2 separate regions of the Homo sapiens genome follow, and region 1 is linked to region 2. The links are contacts of gene promoters, found by promoter capture Hi-C in blood cells and fetal thymus (Javierre and others, 2016). All regions are on one chromosome and are shown on one strand. The core of a region is centred on a gene start or on the middle of the fragment in contact, and the rest is flanking DNA. Distances in the headings are between cores, read along the strand shown. Region 1 holds the start of PES1 (pescadillo ribosomal biogenesis factor 1). Region 2 holds the start of ZMAT5 (zinc finger matrin-type 5).

The links. Contacts are between HindIII fragments. The CHiCAGO score rates a contact against its expected background, and 5 or more counts as called.
Region 1: a contact is called between the fragment with the promoter of PES1 here and the fragment with the promoter of ZMAT5 in region 2, in 3 of 17 cell types (fetal thymus, non-activated CD4 T cells and total CD4 T cells). The highest score is 7.1, in fetal thymus.

Annotation. Positions count from the first base shown.
Region 1 is chr22:30,589,613-30,595,670 of GRCh38, reverse strand. PES1 (pescadillo ribosomal biogenesis factor 1) reads left to right here and starts at 3,761. Exons shown (of 15, transcript NM_014303.4): 1 at 3,761-3,861. The coding sequence starts at 3,838. RefSeq lists enhancers at 3,139-3,218, 3,439-3,738, 3,218-3,933. The HindIII fragment of the contact is 19,848 bases long and covers 1-4,483 here.
Region 2 is chr22:29,763,935-29,770,322 of GRCh38, reverse strand. ZMAT5 (zinc finger matrin-type 5) reads left to right here and starts at 3,316. Exons shown (of 6, transcript NM_001003692.2): 1 at 3,316-3,451. UQCR10 (ubiquinol-cytochrome c reductase, complex III subunit X) reads right to left here and starts at 2,954. Exons shown (of 2, transcript NM_013387.4): 1 at 2,775-2,954; 2 at 1-645. The coding sequence starts at 2,924. The coding sequence ends at 604. RefSeq lists enhancers at 2,823-2,872, 2,782-3,431, 3,233-3,462, 3,432-4,081. The HindIII fragment of the contact is 8,045 bases long and covers 1-6,388 here.

The DNA.
Region 1 (6,058 bases), core at 2,512-5,011, 820 kb before region 2:
GGGAAGGACTGGGAAGGCCCCTGCCAATGCAGGGCTGACAGGGGAAGGTTCCCTCCAGGGTCCACCAATGATGGGAACCCAGCTGGGAAGAAATAAAGTCTCCAAGATCTTTTTTTTTTTTTTTTTTTTTTTGAGACACTGTCTCACTCTTGTCGCCCAGGCTGGAGTGCAGTGGTGCAATCTTGGCTCACTGCAACCTCCATCTCCTGGGTTCAAGCCATTCTTCTGCCTCAGCCTCCTGAGTAGCTGGGACTACAGGCAAGCACCACCTTGCCCGGCTAATTTTTGTATTTTTAGTAGAGACGAGGTTTCACAATATTGGCCAGGCTAGCCTCGAACTCCTGACCTCGTGATCCACCCGCCTTGGCCTCCCAAAGTGCTGGGATTATAGGCATGAGCTGTCGCGCCCAGCCAGTCTCCGAGTTCTTTAACCTCAAGCAGGAGATCTTGGATTCTGATAGGACTTACCCAGACCCTTTCCCAGAGTGATCAGGAGCAAGGGGACTTTGTTAAAGAGTCCTTGTTGGTGCCAGGCATTGTCCAGGGCAACAGGAGGAAACAAATCTGGGGTGACTTTAGAATCTCACTCTCATTATGAGATATGTTAACTGAAAAATCATGAGAATCTATAAATTTGGACAGGAGACTTTTTATTTATTTGTTTGTTCGTTTGTTTATGTAGAGAGCCAGTCTCTCTATCACCCAGGCCAGAGTGCAGCGGCGTGAACACACCTCACTGCAGCCTCAACCTCCTGAGCCCAAGCGATCCTTTTGCCTCAGCCTCCTGAGTAGCTGGGACCACGAGTAGCTGGGACCACAGGTACACACTACCACACCAGCTAATTAAAAATAAGTTTTCCTTTTGTAGAGATGAGGGTCTCACTATGTTGTCCAGGCTGCTTTCAAACTCCTGGGCTCAAGTGATCCTCCCCACTCAGCTTCTGAGTAGCTGGGACTACAGGAACCTGGCCCTATGCCTGGCTGTGTTTTTTTTTTTTTTTTAAGGCGGGGCACAGTTTAGTAGAGACAAGGTATCACTATGTTGCCCAGGCTGGTCTAGAACTCCTGAGCTCAAGCAATCCTCCCACCTTTGCCTCCCAAAAGGCTAGGATTACAGGTGTGAGGCACCGTGCCAAGCTAATTTTTTTTTTCTGAAACAGAGTCTCTCTGTTGCACAGGCTGCAGTGCAATGGCACAATTTTGGCTCATTGCAACCTCTGCCTCCCAGGTTCAGGTGATTTTTCTGCCTTGGCCTCGCTGGTAGCTGGGATTACAGGTGTGCATCACCACGCCCAGACAATTTTTGTATTTTTAGTAGAGATGGGGTTTCACCATATTTGCCAGGCTGGTCTTGAACTCCTGACCTCAGGTGATCCACCCACCTTGGCCTCCCAAAGTGCTGGGATTACAGGCGTGTGTCACCATGCCCAGCAAATTTTTGTTTTAAATGAAACAATGTAAACATACTTAAAGCAACAACTACTTTATGCAGTTAGTGTTGACCCCATCTTACAAATGAGGAAGAGAGGTACCCTGAGGTAAAGTGGCTTGTCCGAGGCTTAGAGGTAAACCAGGTGTGTCTCCCTGCAGAGACTGGGCTTTTCACCGTAATGCTGATGGAGGCTTGGTATTGCACAAAGCATTCTGTGTGTGGGCAGCCCTAATGGTTAAAAACCTCTTCCCTTTATGGAACAAAAATCTACCTGGCATTATCCTGGAGTCACATAACATTCTTTCTACTATACGTTAGGTAGTGGAATGTGAGTTTAGCAGAGGACTCTGAAACCAGACTGCTTGGTGAGAATCTATTCTGCACAGCTTAGCAGCTGAGTGATCTTCAGCGATCACTTACTTTCCTGAGACTTAGTTTCCTCCCTTGTGAAATGTGGTACCTATATGACGGCTATTTTGAGCTGAAATTACAATTGCTTCCCTGAACATCCCCACCTGTGTCTTCCAGTGACCCCTCAACATTAATGTGAGCAAAACAAGGCTCAACTTTCTGCAAACATGGTTCTATCTGTGCAGGACGAGCTAGGTGATTTGTGAGGGACAGGGTGAGATGACTGCCCAGGCCACATGCTCACGACACCAGCCCTGTTCCTGTGTTGCCCTCATGAGCCAGCCACTGCCACCCTCTCCAGTCCATCCCTTTCCTTCTTCTTCTTTTTTTTTTTGAGATGGAGCCTCGCTCTGTCGTCTAGGCTTGAGTGCAGAGTGCAGTGGCACAATCTTGGCTCACTGCAACATCTACCTCCTGGGTTCAATAAATTCTCCTGCCTCAGCCTCCCAACTAGCTGGGGTTACAGGTGCCTGCCACCACACCCGGCTAATTTTTGTATTTTTGGTAGAGATGGGTTTTCGCCATGTTGGCCAGGCTGGTCTCAAACTCCTGATCTCAGGTGATCCGCCTGCCTCAGCCTCTCAAAGTGCTGGGATTACAGGTGTGAGCGACCGTGCCCGGCTTCATCTCATTTTTAACTGTGGAATTGCTGGGTTTTAAATTTTAGCTTTAAATTAGATAGTGCAAGTCACATAGTTCAAAACAAGTATTCACCAGTGCTTAACGTCTGTCTCTGTGTAAGTTCTAAGACCAAGTCCTTGGGCCAGGTCACATTCACAAGAGCCTCAAATTTAAACTTTTGAGATCATCTTCGAACGAAATTTGGAATTTGGAAAAAGGGAGAAACGTTTAAAAAAAAAAAAACCTCTTAAAATTGCATCTACTTCCAGACTGCACCATCTCAAGGTGATGTGACTATTTGTATAAATCTTGGAATTATTATTTGAGGAACACTTACAGAATTTATGTGTACAAATTAAAAGCTCGAATATGTTGAATGTACATTTAATTTTATTTATTTATTTATTTTTGAGATGGAGTCTCACTCTGTCGCCCAGGCTGGAGTGCAGTGGCAAGATCTCGGCTCACTGCAACCTCTGCCTCCCAGGTTCAAGCGATTCTCCTGCGTCAGCCTCCCGAGTAGCTGGGATTACAGGCGTGTGCCACCATGGCCAGCTAATTTTTGTATTTTTAGCAGAGACGGGGTTTCACTATATTGGTCACACTGGTCTCGAACTCCTGACCTCAGATGATCCGCCTGTCTTGGCCTCCCAAAGTGCTGGGATTACAGGCGTGCGCCACCGCTCCCAGCCTTGAATGTACATTTTAAATATACCACGAGTCCACCACTAAGGCTCAGAAAATATAAGTGGCCTCTAGGATCTCTATACCTCCGCGAGGAAAAATGTCTTCCTTTTTTCTATTTTAGCCGCATAACCGCGAATGAACCAAAGAGAACCCGAAGCCGGTGGGAACTCAGCGCAGTCTCACCCTGCCCCTCGGGAACCGCTTCTCAGCAGCGGCAGCCGAAGTCTGACGACGCTTAGCAACCGTTACCTTGACAACGCAATCCTATCGCGCACCATGGAGTGCGGCGCCCCTCTGCATCCCAGAAGGCACCGCGCTGTCCCTAAGCCTTCCGCCCCTCTCCGTCCCAACATGCAACGAGGCTCACAGTCAATGAATCGTCATCAGGGTGATTACAGAAAAGCCTGTATATCCACGTTTGTTTTAACACTTAAAGTGTTTGTAACCATTGTGAGCGGGAAAGATCTGGAAAGAGTGTTCTCAGTGATTTTTTTCAGACTATAGTTTTAAATCTTGAGGAGGAAATCCCCATCTTTCCCTGGACTTGTACAGGCATCTCATTGGGCAGCCCGCACAAACAGACAGCGTGGGGTGGGGAGGGTCCTCGGGGTCCTTGGCAGGGCACGTGCGGGAGGAAGTGGAGCTCCCTGTACGCGCGGCCCTAGTCGGCTCCTCAACGTGGAGCGATGGGAGGCCTTGAGAAGAAGAAGGTGATTGGGAAAGACGGTGGGGATTCCCGAGGGGTGGGGTGCGGGGGCGGCAGAGCATGGGGTCGACTCTTTTCCCGGGCTCCGTCTCGTGGAGACTGGAAAGACGGGATCGACGTGACCGTAATCAGCTGCGAGAAGGGGTCCGAGAATGGACAAGGATGGCAGTATTCGTTTAGTGAAATCCGAGAACGAACTCCAGAGTTCTTTCTGTGGAGAGGGCTGTGAAAGAGAGTTGAACTTACCAAGCGTAGCTTCATTCCAAAAGCAGGCCGAGCCGTGGGACCACTATTTACCGAAAGGGTGATAAACATTACGTAGAGCTCACCGTTACTGCACCGTTACATTAGTTGGTTAGTGTTGTCTTGGAAGTTCTCTTCGAGGCATAACATTTCGGCTGAAATGGGAAAGATCAGAACGTCTTGGATGGGTTCTGGGGCATGGGAGTGCTTAGCGAGCAGGCCTGACAAGGGAAACCAAGTGCCAAGATCAGTAGGCAGGGAAGGCTTGCTGTGTGTAAGGAGTTGGAAGGACATTAGGATGACTCGCATGTAAACCAAGAAAAGAATGGCATCTGATAAGATTGGGGTTGGACACGTACTGTATCGTGCAAGGCCTGTAAGCTTGGATTTTATTCTAAGTGCAGTAGGAATAGTGTAGAGCTTGGATTTTATTCTACGTGCAGTAGGAAAAAAAGGAGGAGTAACACGATTAGAGTTTTTCAGGGAGTTCTTGTGGCTGTATGGAGAATCGGCCCAGTGACATGAAAAGACTGGGAAGGGAATGGGAATGAGGAATATATAGTTGGCTTAAGTGTTTCTTTCAGAGTGAAAGTTTCTATTGCCAGTGTTCTTAACCCAACACACTACATTGAGTATCCAGTGCTAGCCATCGGAACTGCAAAGATACAAGATGGAAAACCTGCCCTTGAGTTGCAGATGTAGATATGTAACAAAATCGTTACAGTTTTTAAAAGCTGGGTTTCAGAGCCAGAATCAACAAAGATGAGTCTTTGTTGTGGGAAGGATTGTCTTGTGTGTAGTAGGATATTTGGCAACATCCCTGATCCTTTACCTACTGGATACCAGTAGCACCCAGCAACCAAAAATGTCTCCAAACATTGCTGAACTCTCCTCCCCCCAGCACATACCCAGGGAGTACCCCATTGAGAACTATTTATTCCCTTAACATTTATAAGGATAAGCATGGTGACAGAGATAAGTGTGGCATAAGGTAATGGAAAACGCTATAAATGAAAACTCAACTTCTTAAGGCAGTCTGAAACTCATCTTTATACCTCCAAGACTTAGCATGGGCCTAATACCTAATAGACAATTAATGTCTAAAGGAAAGAATGAATGAAGGGTATGTTTCATGACTATGATGTTATTAGTAAACGTACCTGTGGGAGACTAACAGGTTTGTCTCTTTAGAGCTGAACCTAGCCAAAGAGGCCCCTGCTGTCTTAGTCCAGAGGAAGATCTTGTTTGGAAACGACATGCTTGTTAGCTTGCAGGGTATTTGTTACAGTGCACTGATTGTCTCTATCGAGGGATACAGAAGTGTGAGGGATACAGAAATGTGGGTGTGAGGCAGCATCTTAGCACCACAGGCATCCAGATGGTTATACAAGACAATAGGCTTCTTAGGGGCAGGTAGAGACCAGGCTTTTTGTCTTTATTGCCTTCATAGCATCTAGCTTAGTGCTTTGACCATAATAGAGGACCTGTTATTGTCTGTTGAATGAATGAATGAGGAAGGGGAGAAGCTGTGTGGCTTAGAGCATGCTTTTTCAGCCAGGGTAATACCACCCTCAAGGGAACAAAATTGGTTGAGGGGCAGTATCTTAGCTATTACAATGGTTGTGGCTCCCCAAGGACTACATTACATAAACAGACCTACAGTATATCTCTGGTATTAACATTTTATGGGGCATAGGGAAGAAAGGGTGATGGGTGAGGGAGGAAGGGGGTGTCTAATAAGTCTCCTGGTAGTGGTGAAGAGGTTATAATGAGGAAGAAAAGAAGGGGAAAAGATTAGGAACACTGGCTTAGCTATTAGGCATTCAGGTACTGGACTCAGACCTGAGTTTGAATCCCAGCCCCAACTCTTAAAAAGCTGTGTGCTTTTTAAGAGTTGCATGGGTTATTTTACGAGCCCGTTTTCTCCTATGTGAAATGGACGTTCGGACAGCACCTAC
Region 2 (6,388 bases), core at 2,067-4,566:
TGTGTGGCCCAAGACAATTCTTCCAACATGGCCCAGGGAAGCCAAAGGATTGGATACCCCTGAACTATACCCTAGGGTGGGGAGTGGCTAAGACCCCTAGGCCAGGGTCTTTCCCCCAGCTGAGGCCATAGTGCTTCCCCATGGCCAAGACAGTGAGGTATTTAAGAATGGAATTACTGGCTTAGAAGCCAAAGTTGACTGTAATATCTCCAACTCTGGCTCCTGTTTTGAAAACCAGAATTCTTTGGAAGTTAATGGAAAACTCAAAATAGCAGATTCTGCCTTTGGGGTGTTTGCAGAGGGCTTTGAAGTGGTCTCAAATTACTGACAAGTGAAGATCAGGTAGAGTTAACAAAGCAACCAATGTAGAAGCAGGTCTCAAGGGCAATTCACATTTATTTCCTGAGCATGCTGACTAAACATACTTCAAACACAGCAGAAGGTAAAGAGTCTGTTTTGTAAGTAAAGCCGTTTCTTGCCAACAGCGAATGGTGGTCCATGAAGAGTACCTTGAGCATCATCTTCAAGCTGAGGCTCCAGCTCTGGGCAAACAGCTGCTGGGTGGACCTGGTCCTTCTGGCCTGGATGGGGGCCTCCAAGGAACTACTTGTTCTCATACTTGTGCTTGATGTGTTTCCACAGCTTCTGCATTTTAAAGACAAGAGCCACAAACTTTGACCTTTGCCTCTCACATTTTACAACTACTCCCACTGCCCTGGTCTCTAAAATGAGCTTGGGGGAAACACATGCCATGTCCTGATTAAAAAGATACACTTGTGGTGGGCAAACTCGAAGCAATCCTATGCTTGATGCACATTTTTTTTTTGAGACGGAGACTCGCTCTATCGCCCAGGCTGGAGTGTAGTGGCGCAATCTCGGCTCACTGCAACCTCAGCCTCTTGGGTTCGAGCGATTCTCCTGCCTCAGCTTCAAGAGCAGCTGGGAATACAGGTATGCGCTACCCGGCTAATTTTTGTATTTTTAGTAGAGATGGGGTTTCGCCATGTTGGCCAAGCTGGTCTCAAACTCCTGACCTCAAGTGATCTGCCTGCCTTGGCCTCCCAAAGCGCTGGGATGACAGGTGTGAGCCACCGCGCCGAGCCTTCATGCATAATTCTTGGCATTTATAAAATACTATGATGCTTTCAATCACCAGGTGAAGTAAGTGGAAAGGGGTGATCTTAATTTCACAGGAAATTCAGTTTGAGATTGAGGGAAGTGCCCCAAAACACACAATTATTAAGGAAAACAGCCTGGAAGATGTCTCAGTTCTTCAACTCCCAGGTATTACTGAAGAGATTATAAGTGCGTAGTCCCAAAATATTTCACCATGAGCCATTTAAGACATTTCCTGGGACCTAAATTGGCTGAAATTCTCATTCCCAGAAGCACAAGAGGTTGAGCACAGTGGCTCACGCCTGTAATCCCAGTACTTTAGAAGGCTAAGGCAGGAGGACTGCCTGAGCTCAGGAATTCAAGACCAGCCTGGGCAACATGGTGAAACCCCATCTCTACAAAAAATACAAAAATTAGCTGGGCGTGGTGGCGCATGCCTGTGGTCCCAGCTACTCAGGAGGCTGAGGTGGGAAGATCACTTGAACCCAGGAGGTCAAGGCTGCAGTGAGCTGTGATCATGCCACTGCACTCCAACCTGGGCGACAGAGTGAGATCCTGTCTCAAAAAAACAAAACAAAACAAAAAAAAGCACAAGGAAAATGGGTGAGTTATAACAACATACTTGGATGTCTCTCCAGATCAATGGGAGTGGTTAACAGAACCACTTGCAAGAGATGGGACAGTAGCAATGCTTTCATATGGGGCAGGAAGTTGCACTGGTCACAGGCAGCATAGCACTAGTGGACAGTGCCTTCCCGGGCTGCAGAGTCAGACAGTCTCAAATTAAAAACACAAGTGAGTGGTGGAACAGGGCTATATGTATAAGGCCTACTCCAGCACAGTCATAATTTAGCGATATAAAGCATGCACTGCACCTAGCACAGTGCATGATACATAAAAGTCAAAAATGTGTTGCGATTCCTACCTCATGCTTCCACTTTCTCCTGAGGAATGTAAGCAATGATTATTTTTCAGTGGTACCACCTACCAGGCATGTGGCACCCTGCCTGCATCTCATGTAATCCTCACAATCGTGCTCAGGTTACTATTAATATCTCCATCTCACAGTTAAAACGGAGTTCAGAGAAGAAACTTGCTCAACTTAATGCCACAGTTAAGTGACAAGGACCAGTGTTCCTATCCAAGGCTTTCTGATTTCATAGCCCCCACTCTCAACCATTAATACCAACTGTCTACGTGGGAAGCCTTGGGGACCAGAAGCGCCGTCTGAAACTTCAGCCACGGCGTCTAAGGTGTCTAACGTCCTTTTCACGACCGTCGCCTGCTCAAATCTGCCCTTGAAACTCTGAGAGACAGGGGTCCCGTTTCTGGCCCTGACTTGCCCCTGGCTTCCTGTGCAGCTAGTAAGTCCTTTGCTCTCACTAGCCTTTAGTTTTTGCTTCTGATAATGGGCAAGTGGGTATGTAGGGTGGCACACAGCAATACTTACAACCCCTGCAAAATGAAATATATTAACCTCGCTTAACGTTTTAGAATTCACATCAAGCCAAGGGGACAGACGGCGGACTCGAGACAGAAGACGCCGACGGTTTACCCCTTACCCCCTTCCTGGTAAAAGTATACTGAGTCCCATCCCACCTCTACTCCACTGTCACCCCTCAGGCGGGTCCAAGGTCAGGGATGGCACAGGCCCTCACCCCCTCGTTGATGTGGTCGTAGATAGCGTCCGCGCCTTGATCGAAGGCGCGCTCGAAGAACATGACGCCCACGATGATGGTGAGGGCGAAGGTGGAGGTCCTGCGGAACAGCAGGGAGTACAATTTCGAAGTCAACGTCGCGGCCGCCATGTTTCTTCACAGTCCAACTCGCGCCACCGCGCCTGCGCTGGGGCCGACCTCGTTCCCCAAAGGCCCTAGACGTGCAACACTTTATGGGATTTGTAGTTCCTCTGAATCTCAGCCTTCGTGTTTTGAACCACAGAGGTATTCCTATCCTGGGAATGAGGAAAAAAACTCAAAAGGTTCATATCAGGACAGCCCAGATAATCTGATAAGATTTATTACCCAATTTTTCTTCTCCAGAATTCCTGGCTGTTAGAATATGTCAAACTACAACTCCCAGAAGCCCTCGCGCGCCATCACCTTCTCCCCGCCCTCCGCCCAGTCCCGGCTTAGATTCCCAAAGCTCTCTGGGAAGGGCGAACTGATGGCCAAGGCGAGACTACGAATCCCAGCAAGCAGTACGCGACGCGAGGACGCAGGAGGAGGAGCCCGGAGCTGCAGCCACCGGGGAGCCAGGTACCTTCCGCGAGACGTCGAGGGGCGAGTCCTAGTCTCTTTTCTCCGCACTGGAAGACTTGAACACTTCCTTCTCTGTGCGTACGCCCTGCGGCGGGACGCACCATTTCTTGGGATAGGGTGTGGATAGAGGGGCGAGGGCAGCTGGGTTCCCGAGACCCTGGCTCAACTCTTCGCCTTGTCCCCTGCACCAGCCCCAAGTCTAGGCCAGGAGCTGGAGCCTGCGGCAAAAGTCTTGTCCTGGAGGTTAAACCCTTCACCCTGGATTAAGGGCAGGGACGGATCTGCCCTGCTTCCTGTTCCTCTCACCCCTGGGCTTCGCACCGGGCAACCCTGGTTTGGAAGGCTGGAGACTTGGAACCTGCTTGGGATTGAAAAGAGCAAGGGCTTTGGAGTACCTGGGGCATTCAACAGATGTTTTCCCAGCGCCTGTTCTGGTCCCTGCTCTGGGGACCCAGCAGTGAACAAAGTCCTTGCTCTCACAGAGCGCTCAATCTACGGAGTGGGCGGGTGGGGAGATGCAGTACAGCAAACAGATAGTGCTTTGGTTGACTGGAGAGGCAGTGGTGGTGACATTGCACCCTGGGTAGCTGCTCTGGGGGGTGACACTTGACTAGAGACCTGAATGAATAGTAGAGTTGAACAGGAAAACGTTGGTGCAAAGGCCTTGAGGCAGCTACAGTCCTGGGATGTTTGAGGGAAAGAAGTAGAGTGGACTGTGAAGAGGTTGACTCCGGTCAGCTCATGTCTGGCCTTGGAACCCACCTTACGGAGTCTTGTTTTCTTTGGTTTTTGTTTTTAGAGACAGGGTCTCACTGTGTTGCCCAGGCTGGTCTCCAACTCCTGGGCTCAAGCAATCTTCCTGCCTCGCCCCCCAAGGTGCGTGAGCCACCGCGTCTGGCCAAGGAGTCTTGTCTTTTTCTAGTTGCACTAGGAGGCCATTGAAGGGTTTTCAGGAGAAATGCGACAAGATTTAATGTGCACTTTAATGTCATCATCCTGGCTGGTCTATGGAGAGTGGACCGCAAGGGGGAAGTTATTGTAGTAGATCATTTGAGGGAAGATGGGTGGTTATTTATTTGAGATGGAGTCTCGGTCTGTCGTCCAGACTGGAGTGTAGTGGTGCTATCTCGGCTTACTGCAACCTCCGCCTCCCGGGTTCAAGTGATTCTCCTGCTTCAGCCTCCCGAGTGGCTGGGATTACAGGCGCCTGCCACCATGCCTGGCTAATTTTTTTTTTTAGTAGAGACAGGGTTTCACCATGTTGGCCAGGCTAGTCTCAAACTCCTGACTTCAGGTGATCCTCCCATCTTGGCCTCCCAAAGTGCTGGGATTACAGGCGTGAGCCACCATGCCCGGCCTGATGGGTGGTAATTTAGGTTAGGGTGTGGAGCAGGGCAGTGATCAGATTTGGGATGTAATTTGGGAGGGAGGGCAGACAGAGCAAGCTAGCAGATGTGTGTAGGGTGCACAGGAAAGAGGAATTGAGGAGGATATCTAAGTTTTTTTTGTTTTTTGTTTTTTGTTTTTTTTTGAGACAGAGTCTCACTCTGTGCGGCTGGAGTGCAGTGGCACAATCTTGGCTCACTGCAACCTCTGCCACCCATGTTCAAGCAATTCTCATGCCTCAGCCTACTGAATAGCTGGGATTACAAGCGGATGCCAACACGCCCAGCTCATTTTTGTATTTTTAGTAGAGACAAGGTTTCACCATGTTGGCCAGGCTGGTCTTGAACTCCTGGCCTCAAGTGATCCGCCTGCCACGGTCTCCCAAAGTGCCGGGATTACAGGTGTGAGCCACCGCGTCCAGCTGACATCTAAGTTTTGACCTCAACAATTTAAAATCAACAGAATGATCTTAAGTTCTGTTTTGGCCACATCAGTTTGAGCTAGCCAACAGACATCAAGTGGAGGTGTCTAGAGGCAAATGAGGACATGGATCTGTAGTTTAGAGGAGAGGTATGAGCCTGAGAAGAGTCATCCGGATAGGGGTGGCATTCAAAACCAGGGACTGGGCTGGGGATGGTGCCTCACACCTATAATCCCAGTGTTTTGGGAATCCAAGGCAGGAGGAACACTTGAGGCCAAGAGTTGAAGACCAGCCTGGGCCGTATAGTGAGACCGTCTCCATGAAAAACAAACTAGGGGCCAGGCGCGGTGGCTCACACCTGTAATCCCCACACTTTGGGAGGCTAAGGTGGGTGGATCACTTGAGGTCAGGAGTTCAAGACTAGCCTGGCCAACATGGTGAAACCCTGTCTCTACTAAAAATACAAAAAAATTAGCCAGGTGTGGTGGTACCCGCTTGTAATCCCAGCAACTCGGGAGGCTGAGGCAGGAGAATCGCTTGAACCTGGGAGGCGGAGGCTGCCACTAACTGAGATCGCGTCACTGCACTCCAGCCTGGGTGATGGAGCTCAAATGAAAACAAAACAAACAAAAACTAGGGATTGGATTGCAGGCCTGGCTCTGCCTCTGACTCTGACATTGATCAGGCTTTAACTCTCTTTTAATTCATCTGTAAAGAGCAACAGTAATACCAGGTTAGGGGATCAGAAGGTAAAATGTGAAATGCTTTACATCCATGAGTTATCCTTACTGTGGTTTTATACTATTTGCAAAGCATCCTGGGAGCCCCTCAGAGCAGGAAGTTGTGAGGCTCCAGGGGAAGACTACTTAGGTCTTGCTAATCATTTCCAACCAATCTGGCTGATGGGAAGTTCAGAGGAGGGAGAAATGAGTAGGGAAGACCACAGGGAGTTAAAGGTGTGGCTTGTTTCATTTGGTTTTATTATGTTTTATTTTTGTAGAGACAGGGTCTCCCTCCATTGCCCAGGCTGGAGTACAGTGGCACATAATTCCTGGTTGTAATAATCATAGTTCCTTGCAGCCTGGAACTCCTGGGCTCAAGCAATTCACCTGCTTCAACCTCCCAAATAGCTGGGATTACAGGTGTGCACCACCATGCTGGGTTATTATTATTACTATTATTATTTTGAGAAAGGGTCTTACTC